Linked DNA regions of Homo sapiens: regions 1, 3, 4 and 5 are each linked to region 2. The links are contacts of gene promoters, found by promoter capture Hi-C in blood cells and fetal thymus (Javierre and others, 2016). All regions are on one chromosome and are shown on one strand. The core of a region is centred on a gene start or on the middle of the fragment in contact, and the rest is flanking DNA. Distances in the headings are between cores, read along the strand shown.

Region 1 (4,667 bases), core at 1,213-3,712, 210 kb after region 2:
TCACGAGGTCAGGAGATGGAGACCATCCTGGCTAACACGGTGAAACCCCGTCTCTACTAAAAATACAAAAAATTAGCCAGGCGTGGTGGCGGGCGCCTGTAGTCCCAGCTACTCAGGAGGCTGAGGCAGGAGAATGGTGTGAACCTGGGAGGCAGAGCTTGCAGTGAGTGGAGATCGCACCATTGCACTCCAGCCTGGGAAACAGAGCAAGACTCTGTCTCAAAAAAAAAAAAAAAAAAAAAAAAAAAAAAAAGACATTATGGCTGTTCAGGAGAATGCCTTATTATTAGCATGCTGTAGTATCTAGGAATAAAACAGCATGAAATTTGCACCTACTTTCAAATAATTCGGCAAAAGAAAGAGGGGAAAGGCTGAATGTGGTGGCTCACGCCGATAATCCCAGCACTCTGGGAGGCTGAGGTGGGCGGATCACAAGTTCAGGGGTTTGAGACCCGCCTGACCAACATAGTGAAAACCTGTCTCTACTAAAAATACAAAAATTAGCTGGATGTGGTGACGTGCACCTGTAACCCCAGCTACTCAGGAGGCTGAGGCAGGAGAACCACTTGAACCCGGGAGGCGGAGATTGCAGTGAGCTGAGATCTCGCACCACTGCACTCCAACCTGGGTGACAGAGCAAGACTCCATCTCAAAAAAAAAAAAAAAAAAGAAAGAAAAAGAAAAAAAGTGACAAAATGTTAACAATTGGTGGCCAGATCTGGCCAACGCCTGTAATCCCAGCACTTTGGGAAGCCAAGGTGGCTGGATTGCTTGAGTTCAGGAGTTCAAGAACAGCCTGGGGAATATAGGAGACTCTGTCTCTACAAAAAAATTTAAAAATTAGCTGGACATGGTGGCATGTACCTGTTATCCCAGCTACTGGGGAGGCTGAGGTGGGGGGATCACTTGTGCCCAGGAGTTTGAGGCTGCAGTGAGCCATTATTGCGCTACTGCACTATAGCCTGAGTGACAGAGTGTCACCTTGTCTCAAAAGAAAAGAAAAAAACAAATATGAAAACAAAAAAAGTTAGTGACTACAGGTGAAGGGAATATGAGTGTTTATTGTGCTATCCTCCCAACTTTTCTGTAGTTTGAATATTTTATGAGGTGAAAAGGAAAATGACTGAGCAACATTAGATCAGTGGTTTTCACACCTTAGGAAAAATAAGAATCACCTGTTGAATTCTCAAATATAAAAATTCTCAAGTGTCACAACCAGAAATTCTAGGTTGGGGCCCAAGAATCTGCATCCCAAAAAACTTCAGACTTAATCAGTGGTTTCTAGAGCAAGTGCTGAAACCCAGATCCACTGGCATGCAGGGAGGAAGCATATGAATGTCTACACCTATTTTAAAGATGGCATCCTTTCATAAATTTATTTTGTATATGGTTGCCCATAAATTCTACTTCCTTATTTCTTTTATGCTCCAACATACTGTAAAATTGCTACTGAGCCATTCCACTGAAAATACTGGCACTGATCCAATTAATTCAAGCCCCTCCTGACTCAAACACATCCTTACCTCGAACTTTCTTTCTCAGGAGCAAGGAGAAATAACCACTCCTTAAAATTCTTCTATCCCAAGTTCTAAGGACACATTTCTCTCTCTGCTTTCTTCTCTCATCTTCCTCAACCTTCCTCCTCAGTCTGGCCAGATTCTTCCCTTCTCTACATACCCCCTGACTCCATGGGGGATCTGTCCTGACCTTTTTTTCACTTTACCCAGTCTCTGGGTGGTCTATGCCCAGGGTTTCACCAAGAGGCCACTGTCCTAAGTCCTTACCTCTAGCACTGCCTTCTCTTCCAAACATCAGAACATGAAATGCCTACTAAACTCTGTCATTTAGCTGTCCCATGAAGTCTGAGGCACTCAGCACACCCAGAACAAACCTAATTCTCACCCAGCATCAATCCGCTTGCTTCTTCTTATGTTCTCTCCCTGACACCAAATTTCTTGCTGTGACACACAGGTTATCTGTGACCTGGCCTTGCCTCTCACCACTCCCCCAGCCATGCTGAATAATTCTGCACTCCTGTATCTACCAAGTTCTTTCTCATTTCTGTGCTGTTTTTTCCTCACATGGAACAGCTTCTCCTTTCCCCTTTTTGGGCTGGCATTCCCTCCAAGTCTTAGCTTGGTATCACTTCTGGGAAGGCCCCTTGGCCCCATCTAGGAGCAGTACCTACTCTGAGTTCTCTCATCCCTTTTTTTTTTTTTTTAATAGACACGGGGTCTCTGTGTTGCACAGGCTTTCTTGAACTGCTGGCCTCAAGTAATCTGCCTCGGCCTCCCAAAGTGCTAGGATTACAGGGATGAGCCACCACACCCAGCCTCATCCCCTTCTCTTCTTGCCCTATCATACTGAGCTGTCACTGTCAACTTATGTCTCTCCTACTAGTGAGCTCCAGGAGGACCAGAATGGTCTTTCACCCTTTTATCCTCAGACCCAGCAGGATTAGCTCACAGCAGCAACAAATGTTTGCTAAACCAATGAGCAAACACATGCTAACAGTGAAAAATACTTATGACACTGTTTCAAGGAAGACTAGAATGTAAAGTTGCCTATATGCTATAACTTTATTTTAGATGTATATGGATTGAGGAAAGAACTCAAATACCTTTTTTTTTTTTTTTTTTTTTGAGATGGAGTTTTGCTCTTGTTGCCCAGGCTGGAGTGCAATGGTGCGATCTCAGCTCACAGCAACCTCCGCCTCCCGGGTTCAAACCATTCTCCTGCCTCAGCCTCCAGAGTAGCTGGGATTACAGGCATGCGCCACCATGCCTGGCTAATTTTGTATTTTTAGTAGAGACAGGGTTTCTCCATGTTGGTCAGGCTGGTTTCAAACTCTGGACCTCAGGTGGTCCGCCCGCCTCGGCCTCCCAAAGTGCTGGGATTACAGGCATGAGCCACTGCGCCTGGCCCTCCATATCTTTTATAATTCTGTTTCACTGACTCTATAATATTCTTTTTTTTGGAAACGGTGTCTCACTCTGTTGCCCAGGTTGGAGTGCAGTGGCGTGTGGCGTGATCTGGGCTCACTGCAAGCTCCGCCTCCTGGGTTCACGCCATTCTCCTGCCTCAGCCTCCCTAGTAGCTGGGACTACAGGCGCCGGTCACCACACCCGGCTAATTTTTTTGTATTTTTTTTAGTAGAGATGGGGTTTCACCGTGTTAGCCAGGATGGTCTCGATCTCCTGACCTCGTGATTCGCCTGTCTCGCCTCCCAAAGAGCTGAGATTACAGGCGTGAGCCACCACGCCCAGACTTAATATTCTAATATTCAAAATACAACATAGCTCAGGGAGCTATGGTGTTTATGGCATAATTCTGCAAGGGGTTCCCTAGGTCTCAGCTGAAATAGATAAAAATCAATTAGGCCGGGTGCGGTGGCTCACGCCTGTAATCCCAGCACTTTGGGAGGCCGAGGTGGGCGGATCACGAGGTCTAGGAGTTCAAGACCAGCCTGGCCAATATGGTGACACCCCATCTCTACTAAAAATACAAAAATTATCCGGACATGGTGGCTCGTGCCTGTAGTCCCAGCTACTTGGGAGGCTGAGGCAGAAGAATCATTTGAACCCAGGAGGCGGAGGTTGCCACTGCACTCCAGCCTGGGTGGCAGAGTGAGACTCCGTCTCAAAAAAAAAAAAAAAAAAAATCAGTCAATTATTAGCCAGGCATGGTGGTGCATGCCTGTAATCCCAGCTACTCGGGAGGCTGAGGCAGGAGAATCACTTGAACCTGGGAGGAAGGGGTTGCAGTGAGCCAAGATAATGCCACTGCACTGCAGCCTGGGTGACAGAGTGAGACTGTCTCAAACAAACAACAACAAAAAAAATCAGTCAATTCTCCTGACTCTAGGATCAAGACAGCTGTACTCACGGTACCTTATAAATGGCTGGTGCTCAACATATAGTAGTTGAATAAACAAACTTTCTTTTAATCAGTAGTTCCCAAACCTGGATGCTCATCAGAACCCCCTATGGAATTTGTAAAAATGAAGCTCCCTGAAAAGCCCACTCCATTCACATCTCTCGAATCAGAATCTCCAAGTGTTTTCTTTTACCTTGGCCAGTTAAATGTGTGAGGCTGCTTAGTGGATTGATGTTCAGAAACCGGCTTTATACAAATGTAGGTGTTCACTCAGTTTCACATGATCAACAACGTAGAGTAAAAGCACTCTGCTAGATACCGTGGGGAATAAAGATCAATCAGGGTTGGACCCTGCTAAAGGGATAAGATCAAGTGGGCAGGAGTGGATTCCTAAAACCTCCTACACCTCCTCTCCTCTACTGGCTTTTCTTCTTAATGAGCTGAGAAGACTGAAGTGGTCTGAAGATAAATGCCGCTCCACCCCGAGCATTGCTACAATAGCCTCTGTCTTCCCACCTATCGCCAGCTCCTCTTAGAGCCAAGCCTTGATTTATGCCCCGGAGCCCACTTCCTTTCACCTTCTCAAGGACATCATTTCAAGAATTCTCCCATCTTTCTCCTATATTATCATTTTTAAATTTATCCGTTGCATCATTTCCATTGGCATGCTAACATACCTTTATTTTCTCTCAGCCTTTTAAACCCTCTAGGCTCCCACCAGACATATTTGGAACAACTTGAGCACTCACAATAATCATTGCCCTAACTAATAATAAGACAACCAATACATT
Region 2 (4,829 bases), core at 904-3,403:
AAGCGCAAGAAAACTTCCAGCCATCTTCTAACTTCCAGGTACTCTCATCACCTTGTGATTACAAAATAAGCCTGCTTCTCTGTTACGCAGGCTTCTCAGTACAATGTCTTCCTCTTCACGTTGACCTTCAGTCATCACCTACTGTCTCAATGTACCCCAAACTGCCCCCCTTTAGAAAACCATTGTTTCTCTAAAGCTCGTCCTCATACTCTAAATGTTATCATCTCTCTCTTACTCTCATATACAAACCATATTATCGCTTTCCTTATCACAATCTCTCCACCCTGCTTCCAACCCCAACATGTAAAAACAGGCCTCCCTCCTCAGGCCAGGCATTTCCCACCCCCAAACTCACACCTCTGCCTTGGGCATGCTACCAGGGGAAATACCTGCAGGGACATGCCCAGGCCTCAGATCATGGGTAGGAGAAAAAGAAAGGGAGGAAGATACTCACTGGCATTACTATCAGCCAGGCTGTTGAGGCTACTAGAAATGTCCCTGCGCCGGAAAAGACAGACAACCTTTGCCTCCACATTTCCATTTGCAGTCTAAGGGGAGGAAAAAAACAAAAACAAAACAACGTAGCAGTGGAAATTGATCATCTGGGAACAGAAATGCACAAAGAGACAAATAACAGTAAGTTTCAGAGGGACCTAAATTAAAAAGCCCAAGAAAATATGAGTAAAGACTTACATTCAAGGATAGACTTCCAAATCCCTTTCCTTTGCCCCCAAGAGACAGAATAGTAAAGTTCCTGCTAACCTCTCAATAGCCTTTCCTGAATACATCCAATGAATGAATGAACGAATATGAATGGGTACTTAGTATAGGATCCTCTCTTCCACCAGAAGTTAGAAACCTCAGAAGAGACCACTGCGGGAGGGAGGGAGAGGGATTCTGCTCCACTCACCTTGTTGAGCTCCTCAATCCGTCTAACCAGGTAAGGATTGCTGGAAGAGTTCTCAAAATAGACGTAATCTGTAAGGGAAGGGAGGGGGGAGAACCACGAAGATCAGAGGAGATGGGAGACGCAGAGCACCAGGGTAGGAGAGAAAGTTGGCCTGAGTGGATCAAAAGGAGATAAGGATTCAGGTAGAAAGGGCGCTGAGATGTGAAAGTGGACAGACTAAGAGAAAATAAGGATGTCCCCCATCCCCACCGCACCTAGTTCTAAAATTAGATCCTTTACTCAAAAGAGAGCCTTAAGGAACAGGCAAGAAGCAGGGGTTCCCCTGCAGTCCCCACAACTCAGCGATGAGTTGCACCCCAGTCGCGGCGAAGTAATTGTCCGCTCTAGCGCAGGGCCCCTACCTTTTCGAATCGAGGCGCACAATAACGCCTGGGAAGAGGAAACCTCCGGGCGGCTCCCCCGCGGTGGCAAAGCCGTCGCCCCAGCCCCTCGCGTTCCCTCCCTACCCTGTCAGCTCCTTCGGAACCGGTTCCGAAGGCCACTCCGTGCCCCGGGGAGCCCCTGACGCAGCCCCGAAAGTGCCGTCGGGGCTGCCCGCAGCTTCTCTCTGGGAGTCTCGGAGCCCTGCCGCGTCGCGGTTCCCCGCACCCTCTCTCCTCGTCTCCCGGTTCCGGTTCCGGTCCGCGCTCCGGTCCACGCTGCCCCATACGCTGCGCCTCGCGCCACCCGGTGCCGAGCCCCTCAGGTCCCTACCCCAACCTCTCCCGCCCCGGGCCCCGTATCCCTGCGCCCGGTACTCACCTCCCACCCGGTACATGTTGGCCGCCATGGCCGTTCCCGCCGCCGCCTCCGGCCGCACAAAGGGGTCCGGGAGGCTCGCGGGGGCAGGGCTCGGCTCGAGGCAAAGCCCCGAACGGTGGGCTGCCGCTTCGAGGGAGTCTCACTGGGGCCCGCGCAGCCGGCACCTCCGCTGCCTCAGCCGTCGCGGTTCATCCCGGCCCGCGCTGTCGCCGCCGCAGCTATCGCCTCACTCCCGGGACGCTGAGGCTGGCCCCCGTCCGCTCGGCTTCTTCCGGAACGAGCTCGGCTCCTGCCAGGCCAGAGCCAGGCTCCAGCTACCCCCGCCCCCGCGGAGTCCCACTAGTCGTTGGGCTCTGCCGGCCGCAGGGAAGGCTTGCCGGGCCCGCCTCAGGGTTCGCCTCCTTCCGGAACACCTTCGGCCGATCCGGAGAACAAGGCCCACTGCTCGGCTCAGGTCGGAGAGCGAGACCCCGCAGATCGGCTACTTCCGGAAGAAGTTCGGCTCCTGTCGGGCAACCGCTCGGCTATTTCCGTCGCAGCTCGGCCCCACCCCCTTTTCCGAGGGCGGGAGAGGAGTCGGGCTTAACTCTGTCCTCGCTGGAGCCCTGCAGCTCCTCCTCGCGCCCCAAAGACTCGCGCGCCTTAGCGCTTCGCCAGGTTATTTGCAAGCGGCTTTGCCTGTCATTTGCATAAATGGTCTACGCTCCCTTACCCTTTCCGCACGCCTCTTTTCCTTCGTCCCCACCCCACAGAGCCCCGGAGGCGCCCGGCAGCGCCCCACAAAAGCACCGGGAGGCGACTTTGGTTCTGGTTTATTGCCCCTCAGCAGGCAGCGGGAGTCAAGGCCTAGGCTGGGGCTGCCCGGCTCAGCCAGCGGGTCTAAACAGTGTGTGCAGGGGCGCCGTTCGCGCCCTCCAGGAAAATGCGCGATCGGGAATGTCTCGAAGTCAGTCCAGGAAAGAGTCGGCCCCTAGTCGTGGGGGATTGGGCCAGGGAAGGGCAGGGCGGGGCGGGGCCACGCCGCCGGGCCAGTCGGTCCCGCCAGGCAGCGATCAAACGTCGAGGGAGGAGGCGGGGGACAGGGAGGGGGTTCGAGAGGGCGTGGCGGGCGCCGGCCCCGCGCCCCCAGCGCCCAGCACTCGCCACTGGAAGATGCTGGCGTCCTTGCCGCCCAGCGAGACGAGGTGCGAGTCGTCGTGCGTGAATCGGACGCTGGTCACGTGGCTGCCGTGGCCCCCGTACATGCGGCTCGGCGCCTGGGCCGGAGGGAAGAGTTGCGGTGGCGGCTGAGCCCTCGGGCCCACCGGTCCCACCCCGGCGATCCCCGCGGCCTCACCTTGGCACGAGCGCACGGGTACTGGAAGAGATGCACTTTGCAGAAGTCGTCGGCCACCGCCACCACGCGCTCGTTGTGGGAGCGGCACAGGGAGTTGATGTCGGTCCCATCGGAGCCGTCCGGCCAGACGCCTAGCACAGCGGCCGGCCTCAGCCCGACCTCCTACCCACCGCCACCCACGGCCCAGAGCTACACCATTTCAGGCGCTCCGGCAGCCGCGGCCACCCACTGCCGCGTTCCAGGCAAGCCTTCCCGGTCCCGAGGGGCCTCCTGGGCTGGATCTTCAGGTTTCTGGACTCTCACCCAACGACACACGCCCAGCGTTCCAAGCCCAAACTGGGCTCCACCTTGTCCCCCACCCTTCCAGCAGGTTTCCACGCCCCTGCTCACCGTAGACGTGAAAGCCCAGCACACAGGTGTAGGTAGCCCATTCCCGGTCTCGGCTCTCATAGCGATTCTTCAGCTGCTTGCAGCCTCCAGCCACGTCCCCTGGGGAGAGGGAGCCCGCCCAGCTCAGCTCTCACCCTGCCCTCAGTAGGGAAGATGCCAGGGAAAGCCAGACTGGAAAGACTGGCATGAAACCCGGCGATGGCATGTGATCTGGTCACCGTAGTAGCATCACCTCCTCCCCCTGTGAAACCCACCCTGTGTGCGTCCTGTCCTGAGCTCTGGCTGAAGTTCTAACAGCTTCCACGAGTTCCTCCTCCCTAGATAAGTCAAGTGCTCCACACTTGCCCTGAGAAACTTTTCCCAAACAATCTTTTCTTAGCGCATTTTTGAACTCCCTCAAGTCAACAAGACATGGTGTGAAACTAGTTGTTTCCAAATCACGAAATTTCTCCTACATATAATTCCAACTCCACTTTAACCCCATCTCCACTTCCTTATCTAACAACACCTCTAACAGCCCCCCCTACACAAAACCCACTCCAATTACCCTCTCCCCATGTCCTGCTCCACTGCCACTCACAGTAAAGAATCTCATAGTCCCCAGAATTGGACATGATGAAATTCCCATCCTTGGACCAGTCAAGATGAGTGATGAAGCTGGAGTGACCCTGGGAGCAAAGGTCAAGAGTTTTAAAGTATCCCATCCATTTCCCATCCCCAGAGCCCCCTTGATGCATCAGACCCCTGAGTTTCGCAGCTGTTATCATGCCCCACCACACACCCCAACTTCCTCACCATACAGCGGCCAAAGCGGCTGGATTTGGCACCATCACTGGAAACACTATAGATGTAGATCACGTTGTCATGGGAACCAATGGCCAGGTACAACCCATCTGCAAATACAGTCACTCAGAGAGGGAAGGGCCAGGGACGCATGTGAGTCCAGGGTTGGGGTGGCTCCCACCTGGGCTGTACCGGACCACTGAGAGCTGCTCATTGCCATCAATGACATCAGACACGATCTCTCTGGTCTCTGTGTCCAAAACCAACCACCTGGAAGGGAGGGAAGTGGAGGCAGATAGGAAGACGAAAAGGCAGGATGTAAGGAGACCCCCAGGGAGGCCACCCTGGGTAGGCTTGGGGATGGCAAATAAGAGAAGCTCAGAGACACACACAGAAAGGCTCTGATGTAGAAGACAGGTCACAACTGCATTCTTCTTTTTTAGTTTGTTGTTGTTGTTGTTGTTGTTTTGAGACAGAGTCTCACTCTGTCACCCAGGCTGGAGTGCAGTGGCAAGATCTCAACGCAACCTCCACCTCCTGGGTTCAAGTGATTCTCATGCCTCAGCCTCCTGAGTAGCTAGAATTACAGGTGCGTACCACCATGCCCGT
Region 3 (4,797 bases), core at 862-3,361, 170 kb after region 2:
TGCCTGTAATCCCAGCACTTTGGGAGGCAGAGGCGGGTGGATCACAAGGTCAGGAGTTGGAGACCAGCCTAGCCAACATGGTGAAAACCCTGTCTCTACTAAAAACACAAAAATTAGCTGGTGGTAGTGGCAAGTGCCTGTAATCCCAGCTACTTGGGAGGTTGAGGCAGGAGAATCATTTGAACCTGGGAGGTGGAGGTTGTAGTGAGCCAAGATTGCGCCACTGCACTCCAGCCTGGGCAACAGGGTGTTACTCCGTCTCAAAAAAAGGAAAAAAGAAAAAAAGTCTGACACCAAAGCCATCATAGTTCTTGCCAGGCATTGGGTGTGTGGAGCGAGCCACCTTTCTCCCATCTGTGGCCATGGAGGTCTCACTACTGCCTTCCCTGGTTCCTGCCTCCACTCAGATTGGGAGCAAATGAGCTCCAGACAGGTTGGATACAGGTTCACTACATCTAATAGGTCCCGGGCAGTCCCGGTCTCCCTCCCATCTTCTAGTGTCTCCAAGGTTGCTGATGGCTGTCCAGAACAGTAAACCTAAGCAAGGAGGTCAGCCAGCTGCCCAGGTCTGGCTAAGCTGACTTCAGGCTCAGTCAGACCTTAGAGGAGAGCGCCCTCTCTCTTTCCCTTAACGCACAGGTGGGCAGACACTTGAAACCACTTCTAATATGGTTCTGAATATGAGTGGAAGAGACTCAGCAGGGTCACATTCTCCTTAGGTGGGGTTGCCATGGCAACCACAGTCGCATCCATCTGGCTTTGCCAGCTCGGGTCCCAGGGGATTTTCTTTTCCAGCGGCAGCAGCATCTAACCCTGAGAGGGGGAAAGAGAAAAAATGTGTACATTCATGCTCCCTTGCAGAATGTTCCCACAGTTCACTCAGTGCAAACTACCCCATCTTGGGTGAACTTAAAGGAATTCACTGTATGCCTTGTGACATGTGAGGGAAAGAAAGTTTCTCTCTTTTTTTTTTGAGACGGAGATTCACTCTTGTTGGCCAGGTTGGAGTGCAGTGGCGCGATCTCGGCTCACCACAACCTCCGCCTCCCGGGTTCAAGCAATTCTCCTGCCTCAGCCTCCCGAGTAGCTGCGATTACAGGCATGTGCCAACACACCCGGCTAATTTTGTATTTTTAGTTGAGATGGATTTTTCTCCATGTTGATCAGGCTGGTCTTGAACTCCCGACCCCAGGTGATCCCCCGCCTCGGCCTCTCAAAATGTTGGGATTACAGGCGTGAGCCACCGCGCCCGGCCGGGAAAGAAGTTTAACCTCCAACTCTGCCAGGGACTCTCACAGACATTAATTTACAACAACCCTGTGAAGTGCGCATTATTACTCCATATTAGGTAATTTGCCCAAAGGCAGTGTCAGAATTTTAACCCAGGTCGGTCTGATTCCAAATACCATCCTTTACTCACTAAGCCCACTGCTTATCAATTAAGAACTGCCCAAGTAGCTGCTATTGCAGTGGGAGTTGGAGAAAGAGAGCTGTCAGTGTGCGTGTCCAACGGTCATGCAAGGCGAGGTAGGCCAGGGCTTGTATTTGGTTCACAGGCGTGGGGAGAATGCGAAGTAGGTGCAGAAAGAGCAGAACCCTGGAGTCCGGAGCTTGCACGGGATGTTCGGCCGGGTCAGAAGTCCCTTCTGCCTGCCGAGAACACCTACCGAGAGCCCCATCTATCCCTTCAGGAAGGGGAAGTGGCATGTGATGTTGGGGAGGTAGGCCGGGCAGGAAAACTAAGCCAGACACCAAAATCTAAAGCTTTGCTGCAGTCGCGAAAATGCGGGTGCTCAGAAACTCGCGAGCAAACAAGACAAAGAAAATCAAGACGCTGTCTTTGAGACTGTTTATTTCCTCGTTACTATTGTGGTGGTAAAAAAAATAAAATATGCTTATTAAACGTGTGTTAAAACAATACACACCTACTCGCAAACGTAGCAAGAGAGGTTGCTTTAAGAAGCGGGAATCTTCAGCGTCACGTGACCGCCGGTCTCTACAGTCTGTTCACACTGGCCAATCAAGAGCCAGGAAGCCTCCTGGAGGGCCGGAAACTTTCCAAGGCGCCCGCCGACTGGCTGTATTGGGGAGGGCGGGGCCGGGGCCCCGGGAGAGGGAATGAGTGTGAGCTCGTGAGTGGGCGCCGCCGCCACCGCCCCCGCCGCCGTCGTCTCGGTAGCAGCCTTCGCCACGCCGGGGTCTTCAGGTGAGCAGGCCTTGCTCTGGTCCAAGGACTCCCCATTCCCGACGCCGACTGCTTACTCACCAGTCTTGGAGCCCGCACCGCGAGGGCCCGCCCCCTTGGCTGACCACGTGACCCAAGTTCAGTGACCCCTGACCTCCTCCCCCCGCGCACCCCCTCCCCGATCTGGGCTGGGCTAGGCCGGGTGGGAGGATGCGCGTTGCCGAGGCCCGGCCCGCGGAGGTCAGTTCCCACGCCTCCTCTCCAGCGTGACTAGTGGCTGAGGATGCGGAGGAGAGGAGGCTGAGGAGCGGGAGACTTTGGTCACAGTCTAGATTTCGTGTACGGTCATATAATAGGGAAACTCCCTCCGTGCCTTTCGCGCTGGTGGACTAAATGCTCCCATTTTACAGATAGGGAAACTGCAGCTTCACAACGATCTATTGGCGGGTCTAGGGTCACCAAGGGGTGGGTCTCCAATCCATGTCTTTGGGGTGGGATCCAGGCCTTGTTCCCCATACAGCTGGCGGCTCCTGAATGCGGTATAGAGTAAAGATTAGGAGCAAGGGGTTGAGTCCTTGCTCCCCCTCCCTACTTACTCAGTGCTTACTTCATGATCTTGGAGAAGTCATGGAACATTTAGCCTCTGAGGTTTGATTTCCTTGCCTGTGAAATAGACGAAATACATAATAATATCTTATTATTGAGAATATAGTGAAGTAATCCATATAAAGCACTTAGCTGTGTCTCAGGCATAGTACAGTGCTATTCGTGGCCGGGCGCGGTGGCTCACGCCTGTAATCCTAGCACTTTGGGAGGCCGAGGCACCTGGATTGCCTGAGCTCAGGAGTTCGAGGCCAGCCTGGGCAACACGGTGAAACCTCGTCTCTACTAAAAATACAAAAAATTAGCTGGGCATGGCGGCGTATGCCTGTAGTCCTAGCTACTCGGGAGGCTGAGGCAGGAGAATTGCTTGAACCAGGGAGGCAGAGGTTGTAGTGAGCCGAGATCACGCCACTGTACTCCAGCCTGGGTGACAGAGCGAGACTGTGTCTCCAAAAAAAAAAAAAAAGCTCGTCGGGCCAGGTGCGGTGGCTCTCACGCCTGTAATTTCAGCACTTTGGAGGCCGAGGTGGGCGGATCACCTGAGGTCAGGAGTTCCAGACCAGCTTGGCTACCATGGCGAAACTCCATCCCTACTAAAAATACAAAAATTAGCCAGGTGTGGCGGCACAGGCCTGTAATCCCAGCTACTCGGGAAGCGGAGGTTTTAGTGAGCCGAGATCAAGCCACTGCACTCCAGCCTGGGTGACAGAGTGAGACATCAGACATCATCTCCAAAAAAAAAAAAAAAGAATAGTTCTTCTTTCTTTCTTTTAGAAGATCTTTTTTTTTTGTTTGTTTTTGTTTTTTGTTTTGTGTTTTTTTTGAGACTGAGTTTAGCTCTGTCATCCAGGCTGGAGTGCAGTGGTGCAATCTCGGCTCACTGCAGCCTCTGCCTCCTGGGTTCAAGTGATTCTCCTGCCTCAGCCTCCTGGGTAATTTTTTGTATTTTTAGTAGAGACAGGGTTTCACCGTGTTAGCCAGGATGGTCTTCATCTCCTGACCTCGTGATCCACCAGCTTCGGCCTCCCAAAGTGCTGGGATTACAGGCGTGAGCCACCATGCCTGGCCTATAATTACAAATTTTTTTTTTTTTGAGATGGAGTCTTGCTCTGTCGCCCAGGCTGGAGTGCAGTGGTGCGATCTTGGCTCACTACAACCTCCACCTCCCGGGTTCAAGCAATTCTCCTGCCTCAGCCTCCGGAGTAGCTGGGACTACAGGCGCGGACCACCATGCCTAGCTAATTTTTGTATTTTTAGTAGAGACGAGGTTTCACCATATTGTCCAGGCTGGTCTAGAACTCCTGACCTTGTGATCCACCCGCCTTGGCTTCCCAAAGTGCTGGGATTACAGATGAGCCACTGCGCCCGGCCTACAATTTTTTTTTTTTTTTTGAGACGGAGTTTTCCCCTTGTTACCCAGAATGGAGTGCACTGGTGCGATCTTGACTCACTGCAACCTCTGTCTCACGGGTTCAAGCGATTCTCCTGCCTCAGCCTTGCGAGTAGCTGGGATTACAGGCATGTGCCACCACACCTGGCTAATTTTGTATTTGTAGTAGAGATGGGGGTTTTTCTATGTTGGTCAGGCTGGTCTTGAACTCCTGACCTCAGGTGATTCGCCCGCCTTGGCCTCCGAAAGTGCTGGGATTAGAGGCGTGAGCCACTGGGTCCAGCTACAAATTCTTACGACTGGTTTGGAGGCAGAATGCAAGGACATTGGAGGATCTAGGAAGACATCCCTGAGCAAGTGACATTTGAACTGAAATCTGAAGGAGTGAGTAGCAGTTCACTAGACAAAGGGATTGGGGGTGGAGGACAGGGAGGAGAGAGTTCCAAGTGGAGGAAGCAGTGTTCAAAGGTCCTAAAATAGGTGTATTTGAGGAACTGAAAGGAGGACACAGGTGGGAATACAGAACACAAGAAAGTAGGAGATAAGAGGTAAGAGGTATTGCAGAAGTAGGCAGTACATGCAGAGCCTCCAGAGCCATTGTTCAGATTTGTTCTTTATT
Region 4 (4,845 bases), core at 1,984-4,483, 220 kb before region 2:
CTAAAACGGTGAAACCCCGTCTCTACTAACAATACAAAAAATTAGCCGGGCGTAGTGGCGGGCGCCTGTAGTCCCAGCTACTCGGGAGGCTGAGGCAGGAGAATGGCGTGAACCCAGGAGGCGGAGCTTGCAGTGAGCCGAGATCCCGCCACTGCACTCCAGCCTGGGCGACAGAGCGAGACTCCTACTCAAAAAAAAAAAAAAAAAAAAAAAAAAGAACATCATCAGGCCAGGCTTGGTGGCTCACGCCTGTAATCCCAGCACTTTGGGAGGCCAAGGTGGGTGGACTGCCTGAGCTCAGGAGTTCATGACCAGCCTGGGCAACATGGTGAAACCCCATCTCTACTAAAAAATACAAAAAATTAGCCAGGCTTGGCAGTGTGCACCTGTAGTCCCAGCTTCTCAGGAGGCTGAGGCAGGAGAACTGCTAGAACCCAGTTGCAGTGAGCCGAAATCACACCACTGCACTCCAGCCTGGGCGACAGGGCAAGAGTTGGTCTCAAAAAAAAAAAAAAAATCAGTACTCCCTGGAATGAAGCCAAGAAAAAATATTTTAATGGAATAAATACATAACTTATTAAATGCATCTGTGTGTGTGCATGTGTGTGTGTGCACGTGTGTGCGTGTGTGTGTGTGTGTGTTTGCCATTCATCTGCCATCACCAGCCGATTAACAAATGACCCTGGTATGCACAATAATAACTAAGTTAAGTCATCATTGGTAGTTTGTCAGCTTGCAGTGAGCCAAGATCACACCCCTGCACTCCAGCCTGGGCAACAGTGCAAGACTCCGTCTCAAAAACAAAAAAAAGTCCGGGCGCAGTGGCTCACACCTTTAATCCCAGCACTTTGGGAGGCCAAGGCAGGCAGATCATGAGGTCAGGAGTTCAAGACCAGCCTGGCCAAGATGGTGAAACTTCATCTCTACTAAGAATACAGAAAAATTAGCTGGGTGTGGTGGTACACGCCTGTAATCTCAGCTGTTTGGGAGGCTGAAGCAGAGAATTCCTTAAACCCGGGAGGCAGAGGCTGCTGTGAGCTGAGATGGCGCCACTGCATTTCAGCTTGGGCAAAAGAGCAAGACTCCATCTCAAAAAAATTTAAAAAGTAGATTTTAGGTACTCTTACCACAAAAAAATAAAGAAAGGTAATTGTGAGATGATAGGTATGTTATTCTAGTTGACTGTAATCATAATTTCACTATGTATATCAAAACATTCATGGCTGGGTGTGGTGGCTTATGCCTGTAATCCTAGAACTTTGGGAGGCCAAGACAGGCAGACTGCCCGAGCTCAGGAGTTGAAGACCACCCTGGGGCCAACATGGTGAAACCCCGTCTCTACTGAAAGACAAAAAATTAGCCGGGAGTGGTGGTGCATGCCCATAATCCCAGCTACTCAGGAGGCTGAGGCAGGAGAATCACTTGAACCTGGGAGATGGAAGTTGCAGTGAGCCGAGATCACACGACTGCACTCCAGCCTGCGCCACAGAGCAAGACTGTCTCAAAAAAAAAAAAAAAGTTCACCTTATATACAGTGAAACATATATACAAGAAAAATACCGATTTTTCAAGATACATTTACCACAGTAACAGGATAGAACATACTTATAACTTCCCAATATTAAATATATGGTATGTGGGCCTCCAGTTGTATTTGTATTGTTGCCATGGCCCCTTGCAAATGTTAGAGGTGGGCCTGCCACCAGCAGGGACTGGGAGAACCCTCCTTCCTTATCTAACAGGTAAAGGGTAACACTGTTACTTTAATTTGCTCTTCCCTTTCCCTGACAGTGAGTTTGAGCATTTTACATTTGTTTATGGGTTTTTCCTTTTTACAAATTTGCCTAGTTTTGTCCTACACTCATTTTTTCCTTTGAATTATTTTTTCCCTTTCTTATCAGTCTCATTGTTTTTTCTTTTACATTTTTAACGTTCTTTATAGATAGATGGGATTTCTCTATGTTGCTCAGGCTGGCCTTGAGCTCCTGGGCTCAAGTGATCCTCCTACCTCTTCCTCTTGAGTAGCAGGAACTACAGGCACAAGCCACTGTACCTGGCTCTTATGAGCCTTAAGGTTATGTTCTGCTGTAAATAAAATTTTAAAAAATCCCAAATCTGCTGTTTTTATTTTGCTTTTGCTATGGTATTTTTGCCACATAAAAGATTTTAGGGCCAGGCGTGGTGCCTCACGCCTGTAATCCCAGCAGCTTGGGTGGCTGAGGCGGGTGGATCACTTGAGCCCAGGAGTTTGAGACCAGCCTGACCAACATGGTGAAACCCCGTCTCTACTAAAAATACAAAATTAGTCGGGCATGGTGGTGCATGCCTGTAATCCCAGCTACTTGGGAGTCTGAGGCAGGAGAATCACTTGTACCCAGTAGGTGGAGATTGCAGTGAGCCAAGATCACGCCATTGCACTCCAGCATGGGCAACAAGAGCAAAACTCCATCTCAAAAATGAAATAAAATAGGCCGGGTGCAGTGGCTTACGCCTGTAATTCCTGCACTTTGGGAGGCTGAGGTGGGTGGATCACAAGGTCAGGAGTTCGAGACCAGCCTGGCCAACATAGTGAAACCCCATCTCTACTAAAAATACAAAAATTAGCTGGGCATGGTGACACACGCCTGTAGTCCCAGGTACTCGGGAGGCTTAGGCAGGAGAATAGCTTGAACCCATGAGGCAGAGGTTGCAGTGAGCCAATATCACGCCACTGCCCTCCAACCTGGGCAACAGAGTGAGACTCCATCTCAAAAATAAATAAAAGTAAAATAAAAAAAGATTTTAAATTTTTTCTGGCAGGTGGATTACTTGAGGTCAGGAGTTTGAGACTGTAACCAGTTTAGGGTTACAGTAGCTCCCCTTATCTGCGGTTTCACTTTCTGTGCTTTCAGTTACCCACACTCAACTGCGGTCTGATGTTTTGAGAAAGAGACCACATTCACATAACTTTTACTATAGTATATTGTTATAATTGTATTATTTTATTATTGTTAATCTCTTACTGTGCCTAATTTATCAATTAAACTTTATCATAGATATGTACATATCATACATATCATAGATATGTACATATATATGTACATATATAGATATGTATAGGGGGAAAGATAGTGTTTATAGAGGTCAGCGCTAGCTGAGGTTTCAGGCATCCACTGAGGGTCTTGGAACGTATCCCCTGCAAATAAGGGGGGACTACTGTTTTACACCTACTGCTGCTGTGAACACTTGAGAATGCGCTTATGGTAAACACCTGTCCATATTTCTGATGGACAGATACACAGGTGTATAATTGCTGAGTCATGGAATGTGCATATCATCAGTTTCAGTAGATACTGTGAAATGCTTTTCCAAAGATGTTGGTACAATTGACACTAACAGCAGTACTGAATGAGAGTTCCACTTCCTGCACATCCTTGCCAGGTTTGATGTGCCTCTTCATTTTAGCCATTCTACTGGAGGGCAGGTGGAGTGGAAAGAATGATTTTTTTTTTTTTTTCTGAGATGGAGTCTCACTCTGTCACCCAGGCTGGAGTGCAATGGCACAATCTCAGCTCACTGCAGCCTCCACCTCCTGGGTTCAAGCGATTCTTCTGCCTCAGCCTCCCAAATAGCTGGGATTACAGACACACGCCACCACACTTAGCTAATTTTTTTTTTTTTTTGTATTTTTAGTAGAGACAGAGTTTCACCATGTTGACCAGGCTAGTCTCAAACTGCTGACCTCAGGTGATCAGCCTGCCTCGGCCTCCCAAAGTGCTGGAATTACAGGTGTGAGCCACAGCGCCTGGCCAAGAATGATTATTTTTAAGATTGAACTCAGGTTGTGTCACTTCCTAACTCAAACTGCCCAGCGTCCTCCCATTTAACTCAGAATAAAAGCCTTTGCAATGGCCTAAAGGTAGGATGATTATATTCTTTAGTGTTTAAACTGAAACTTAATTTTGAGAGTAAAAGTGGTACTATTAATAATTAAGCCATGACAGCAGGCATACATTTGAACTGGCCTGGGTAACTAGTGTGTATGGTCACCCCACTTGTCAAGAGATATCGTGATCTGGACTTGGCTGTCCCTCTGATCATTCTCCTACCACGCTCTCCCTCATTTTATTCTCTCCAGCCACACTGGCCTCCTTCAAATTCCATGCACATGGCAGGCATGTTTGTGCATCAGGAACGCTCCTCCCCAGCAGCTGGGATGGCATGATTGCCCCTCTGTCCTGCAGAGACACTCTGTGTAAAACAGCACCTCCCCACCATCACTCTTCCCTGGTGCTTCTTTGTTTTTTTGTTTGGGTTTTTTGTTTTTTTGTTTTGTTTTTGTCACCTGACATATTATTGCCCTGTTACTACCACCCTCTACCCCAAATGCAGGCTCCATGGGAGAAAGGACTTTGTTTAGCTTTACCACTGTGTCCCAGCACTTAAAACAATGCCTCAAATATAATTCATTATAGAACCTTGCTGGTGGGTATGCTGGGGTGTTCGTGTACAATTTGTTCAACTGTGTTACAGTCACGCGTCTCATGACAGGACAAGAAATGCATCCTGAGAAATGCATAGTTGGGCAATTTCATGGCCATGCAAACATCATAGGGGTGCACTCACACAAACCCAGATAGGAGAGACTAATACACATCTAGGCTATGTGGTCCGGCCTGTTGCTGCTACGCTACACACCTGTGCAGCATGTGACTGTCCTGAATCCTCTAGGCAGTTGTCACACAATGGTAAGTACTTGTGTATCTAAACATAGAAGTACAGTAAAAATAGAGGATTATAATCTCATGGGACCACCATCCTATATGCAGTCTGTTGATCAAAACATCATAGGTGGCACATGACTGT
Region 5 (5,049 bases), core at 47-2,546, 230 kb after region 2:
TCCTTGGGGCTGCTCCAAACCCGAGAGCTTCCGCTTGGCAGCTGCCTCCAAGGATGCCCAAAGTTCATCTGTCTCTGTGTCTTCTAGGGGCACCTTGTTGGGTTCTTGAGGCTCTTGGGGCTCATCCTGGTGAGTGGGAAGAAAGCTTAGGAGTCAGGGGGGCCGGGCACGGTGGCTCCCACCTGTAATCTCAGCACTTTGGGAGACCAAGGCAGGAGGATTGCTTGAGCCCAGGACTTAGCGACCAGACTGGGCAACATAAGGAGACCCCATCTCCACAAAAAGAAGTTTAAAAAAAAAAAAAAAAAAAAAAAAAAAGAAAAGTAGTCAGGGGCACAGGGACAAACCCACAGGGAAGGAGACCCTGGCTGAGAAAGAATCCCTCTGGGTACCACCACCTTTATTCCCTGCTCCTAGAAAGCAACCCCATCCATGCTGTTGGCAATAACCCTCTCAGGATTTTAACTGTTAATGCCTCTCAGAGAAATTAAGTGACCAGGCAGGTAAACAGATAGTCCCAAGTCTGCATTCCAGCTGCCTCCTTTTCCTCTCCATAGGGAGGTCCTCACATCTATGCCCTTGGCTCCCACATTCCCGGGCCCAACTGCTCACCTCCCAGTTGTCCCTGCCTGACAAGAGGAGGCAGTTCAATTGAGACTTGAGATAAACCTGCAAAAGATGAGGGACCTTAAGGAGCCAGGCATGCTGAGACAGAAACATGAACGGAGGGCACAGGAGGCGGGGCCTCCACAAGACCATGAGTTGGAGGTGGGAGAGACAACTTACCTTATGCTCCAGACCCCGTGGATTCTGGATCCTGTGTATCCTCAAGACTCTGTCCAAGCCACAGGAGGCTAGTAGAGGCTTTGAAGGGTGGCACTGCAACCCACGCACACTGCCTGCCAGCCCCTTCAGACAGCCCAGTAGACGCCCTAGAGAAGGGGGGAAGCATCCGTGATAACTGGCTGGCCAATAACCAACCATTCATTGTTTCCTGTTCCAATCACTTTCCATTTCAACATTTAATCTGCAACAAAACCCTGAGACTGGAGCTTCTACTAATATTTCCATTTCGCAGGTGAGGAAACTAAGGCACAGGGAGTTGAAATAATTAGTTTAAGGTCATACAGCTTTTAGGGAAACCAGGATTTAAACCCAGGCAATCTGGCACCTGAATGAGGCCTCACTGGCCCCACTGCACCACCTTAGAGGGAATCCTGACCCTTCTCCCTGCTCCTTCCTTTCCCCCAATGTACCCTAGTCCACTCACCTTGCCGAAGGTCAATTTCTGCCAGCTGCCCATGAGTGTTTCCCACAATCACTGAGCTGAGGATGAGACCAGAGGCAAGTGGGATCAGCAGTAACCTCCTGGAGCCCTTCTCAAGCCCCACCCTCCCACCCCTTCCCCTCTAAACACTCACTTGCCTCCCGGAGTGAGGGTCATGGCTGTTAGTGGGTACTCTCCATAGGTGGTCTCTAGGACTGGCCGGCGCTGGGGGGATGCTGGATCATAAACACGGACCTAGAGGAAGGCTGAAGCATCACAAAAGTATCCTCACCCTGCACCTACCCTCTGGCGTCTCTGCATCCTCACCCCCTCCCTGCACACTGCTTTCTTATTTATGATCCACTCCCAGAAACTTTCTCATCTTAGATGTATGCCTCTTCTCTGAGCATCAGGGTGTCAGGAGAGCTGCTTAGCAGCATAAATGGACAGAGCTGAGGGGAGAGGTCCCCTAGGTTGGAAGTGTGTGAGCATTCCATCCCCCCATACTCCCATCTAGGGGAAATGGAGGGACAGAAAAGCAAGTTGGTCTAGTAGTCAGTAGGTGCTAAATTTCAAGCAGGGGTTAGCCTGAATGAAGGAGGAAAGAGGATGCCCTCATATGTGTTTTGAGCAGAGGCATATGACCAAGATCAGACTTCAATGTGCAGAAGCAAAGAAAATAGGACAAATACAGTGACCCAGCCCCGCCCGTGTCTCAAGACCTCAAATGAGACAAACCATAAAGATTCCCCATTCGGGCCCTTCCTGTAAAGCTGAGGAGCTGAGGCCAGAGATGGGAGGCTCAGGCCTGGGTCCCAAAGCAAATCAGAGAGGCTGCATCAGGACCAGAACCCAGTTCTCTTAACACCCAGCCCAATGTCCTCTGACACCTGCACCCTATAATTCCCACAGTGAAGGGGATCCACTCTCCTTTCCTCTCTTCCAGGTGGGAGGAAAACAGGCATAGTTCAGGAAACTCCACCCTAGAATACAGTAGAGGAAGGTCATGGGCTCAGGGACAGGGTTGGAACAGACGGGGAAGCGCTTGCTCCTCTGAACTCAGAATGGTGAGAAGAGCAGTTGTGTCAAACCGTGGGGGCCATTTCTCCAGGAGGCTGCTTTATCCCAGGAGAAGGCAGGTGTGAGGTGACACCTTACCTGGTGGTACCCTGTGCAGGTGACAAGCTTCTGTGATCCTGGGAGAAACTGTATGTCCTGGTCCCAGATGGGAACCCGCAAGTCCAGCCAGTCATTCCGCACCTGGTGGGGTGGGCAGATGGAGGACAGGGCTATGGGGGGCTCGATGTGCCCCTGTTTTCAGCCCTCCTTCGCCCCCTAAGTCCATCTAGTCTCTAATGCATCGTCAGTGGCCTCAGCCTCCCTCGACTTCAGGAACAGCTCCTTCACACTCTTGTCACTCACGTTCTTGGCCCTGAACACAGGTTCCTCAGAGCCCTGCAGGTCCCATATCTTCAAAGCATTCTCTTTCCCACCTGTGGCAACCACATGGGGGTGTGCTGGGTCTTGGCGCATCCTACACACCCCAGGGCCCACTCTCAGTTCCAGGAGCTGTAAAGAATAGGAGATAAGAGTCCGTTCCAGAGTCCTTAATCCTCCCTTCCCCAGCGTGATCATTAGGCACCTACCCCAGCCCACCTCCCCCAACCATCAGGGCAGGGGAGCCTCACTGGGTCAGAGGATGTGTCCTTGTCCTTGTCATGCCAGACTCTGAGAATCCCAGAATCCACACATGTGATGAGGGTGCTGCAGAGAAAGGATAGAGTTGGGATTTTTTAAGTGCTTAAACTCCTTGTTCTAATCTTTCTCTCCTCCTTACTACTACAGTTGACTAATGTTTAAAGAAAAAAAAAAGTATAAAAGTATTCTCTAGGCCCCAAACTCATATCAACCAGATTCCCTACTAACAGTCCAGTTTAGAAGGAAGCCTCTAGGTCACTGGGCTCTAGGCAGGGCTTGACAGCTTCCAGCTTCCTAATCTGTTAATTCAACTTTCTCAACAGGGTGAGGGTTTACCAAGTGAGGAAATAGAAGCGCTGAGAAACTAATTTGCCACTCAGCTATGTTACAACCACAGCTAGAAATCAACTCTGTGATATTCCAGAGTGCTTTTGCTGTTCACAGCTATGTCTAGCATCTGGCTGTACTGGTCTGTCTGAATCTTGAGTTGCTTACTAGGGCTGGTCTGAATTTAGGGCTTGGTCAAAGTCAAACACCAACTTCTTGGGTTCCTTGCTCTGAGTTTCAGGCACTAAATGTCAGTCTCTTGCTTAAAATATCCCTCCCGAGAAGTCCAAGCAAGTCTCTCCCCAGGATCTGCACAGCCTGCGCCTATGTTCTTTCTCACACCTGCCAACCCTCCCTAGCTGGGTTCGGGCTCTGTATCGACTTGCCTGACCTGTGGCAAAAGTCTCCCAGTTGCTGTCTCCAATCCATCCTCCATACTCCTACAGGCTCCCAGTGCTGACTATGGTACTTCCTATTCAAAAACTGATAACTTGGCCAGGCACAGTGGCTCACGCCTATAATCCCAGCACTTTGGGAGGCCAAGGCAGGCAGATCACCTGAGGTCAGGAGTTCCAGACCAGCCTGGCCAACATATAGTGAAATCTTGTCTCTACTAAAAAATACAAAAATTAGCTGGGTGTGGTGGTACATGCCTGTAGTCCTAGCTACTTGGGAAGTTGAGGCAGGAGAATCGCCTGAACCAGGGAGGTGGAGGTTGCAGTGAGCCGAGATCATGCCACTGCACTTCAGCCTCAGTGACAGAGCAAGACTCCGTCTCTCAGAAAAACAAAAACAATAAATGAATAACTCACCAACACCAATAAAAGTGCACATCTCTCAACCTAGCACTTAAAGCCCTTTACATTTAATCCCAACCTAATATAGTGTTCATCTTGTATTAAAATGCTTCCTTGGCCGGGTGCAGTGGTTCACGCCTGTAATCCCAGCATTTTGGGAGGCTGAGGTGGGCGGATTGCCTGAGGTCAGGAGTTCCAGACTAGCCTGGCCAACATAGTGAAACCCTGTCTCTAATAAAAATACAAAAAAAACTTAGCTGGGCGTGGTGGCGGATGCCTGTAATCCCAGCTACTCAGGAGGCTGAGGCAAGAGAATCGCTTGAGCCTGGGAGGCAGAAGTTGCAGTGAGCCGAGACTGTGCCACTGCACTCCAGCCTGGGCAACAGAGTGAGACTCCGTATATAAAAAAAAAACAAAAAACAAAAAAAAAAAAACGCTTCCTTGTTATCAACTTCCAAATCAAATGCTATTTATCCTATTTATGTACCCTGTAGCATGCCTCCAGTCCTTGGCCTCTCCCAGGCAGTACCCTCTTTCTAGAATACCCTTATCCCCTTCTCCACCAGTCAAAATTCTACCCATCCCTCAAGAACCAGTTCAGACATCCAGTCCCCCCCACAGGCTTTCCAGACCTCACCTGTCAGAATTACCACCACCAAACCTATGCAGCCTGCTTCACAGCCCTCTTTCATCATCTTTGGAAGAAAGCAAGGCCAGTCATCCAACCACTTAGCACCTTCCTAATCTTTGCTTTCAGAGCTACATCACCTTGTTGGTGGTTGAGCTCAAGTTGAGCCCAGGAGTTTGAGACTGGCCTGGGCACACAGTGAGACCCCATCTCTATAAAAAACTTAAAAATTTAGCTGGGCAGGGTGACACCTGCCTGTGGTCCCAGGTACTCAGGAGGTTGAGGCGGGAGGATCGTTTGACCCCGGGAGGTTGAGGCTGTAGTGAGCCATG

The links. Contacts are between HindIII fragments. The CHiCAGO score rates a contact against its expected background, and 5 or more counts as called.
Region 1: a fragment that was not itself captured here is called in contact with the fragment with the promoter of MTA2 in region 2 in 10 of 17 cell types (total B cells, naive B cells, naive CD8 T cells and 7 more); the score reaches 9.7 in total B cells.
Region 3: the fragment with the promoter of TAF6L here is called in contact with the fragment with the promoter of MTA2 in region 2 in 4 of 17 cell types (non-activated CD4 T cells, total CD8 T cells, naive B cells and 1 more); the score reaches 5.6 in non-activated CD4 T cells.
Region 4: a contact is called between a fragment that was not itself captured here and the fragment with the promoter of MTA2 in region 2, in 1 of 17 cell types (M2 macrophages). The highest score is 5.2, in M2 macrophages.
Region 5: a fragment that was not itself captured here is called in contact with the fragment with the promoter of MTA2 in region 2 in 3 of 17 cell types (total CD8 T cells, monocytes and naive B cells); the score reaches 6.5 in total CD8 T cells.

What each region holds. Positions count from the first base shown.
Region 1 is chr11:62,809,453-62,814,119 of GRCh38, forward strand. All of the region lies in intron 10 of STX5 (syntaxin 5), which reads right to left. Among named protein-coding and RNA genes, the nearest start is that of NXF1, 6.3 kb to the left of the region's middle. The HindIII fragment of the contact is 8,125 bases long and covers 1-4,667 here.
Region 2 is chr11:62,599,712-62,604,540 of GRCh38, forward strand. It overlaps MTA2 (metastasis associated 1 family member 2), which reads right to left and starts at 2,154. Exons shown (of 18, transcript NM_004739.4): 1 at 1,712-2,154; 2 at 911-978; 3 at 455-548. The coding sequence starts at 1,739. It overlaps EML3 (EMAP like 3), which reads right to left. Exons shown (of 22, transcript NM_153265.3): 17 at 4,402-4,490; 18 at 4,233-4,330; 19 at 4,018-4,105; 20 at 3,438-3,536; 21 at 3,048-3,178; 22 at 2,507-2,967. The coding sequence ends at 2,764. RefSeq lists enhancers at 1,025-1,735, 1,170-1,219, 2,600-2,649, 3,158-3,867 and silencers at 1,470-1,549, 1,630-1,729, 1,800-1,849. The HindIII fragment of the contact is 11,513 bases long and covers 1-4,829 here.
Region 3 is chr11:62,769,285-62,774,081 of GRCh38, forward strand. TAF6L (TATA-box binding protein associated factor 6 like) reads left to right here and starts at 2,112. Exons shown (of 11, transcript NM_006473.4): 1 at 2,112-2,206. It also overlaps a transcript of TMEM223 not described here. RefSeq lists enhancers at 350-399, 2,562-2,701 and a silencer at 1,962-2,371. The HindIII fragment of the contact is 6,431 bases long and covers 1,763-4,797 here.
Region 4 is chr11:62,383,413-62,388,257 of GRCh38, forward strand. All of the region lies in intron 4 of ASRGL1 (asparaginase and isoaspartyl peptidase 1), which reads left to right. Among named protein-coding and RNA genes, the nearest start is that of SCGB1A1, 33 kb to the right of the region's middle. The HindIII fragment of the contact is 6,766 bases long and covers 1-4,845 here.
Region 5 is chr11:62,833,006-62,838,054 of GRCh38, forward strand. WDR74 (WD repeat domain 74) reads right to left here. Exons shown (of 11, transcript NM_001369450.1): 4 at 2,956-3,031; 5 at 2,690-2,836; 6 at 2,426-2,527; 7 at 1,422-1,522; 8 at 1,271-1,326; 9 at 787-932; 10 at 613-669; 11 at 1-126. It overlaps STX5-DT (STX5 divergent transcript), which reads left to right. Exons shown (of 2, transcript NR_135084.1): 2 at 558-1,038. Among named protein-coding and RNA genes, the nearest start is that of TEX54, 2.7 kb to the left of the region's middle. The HindIII fragment of the contact is 2,307 bases long and covers 144-2,450 here.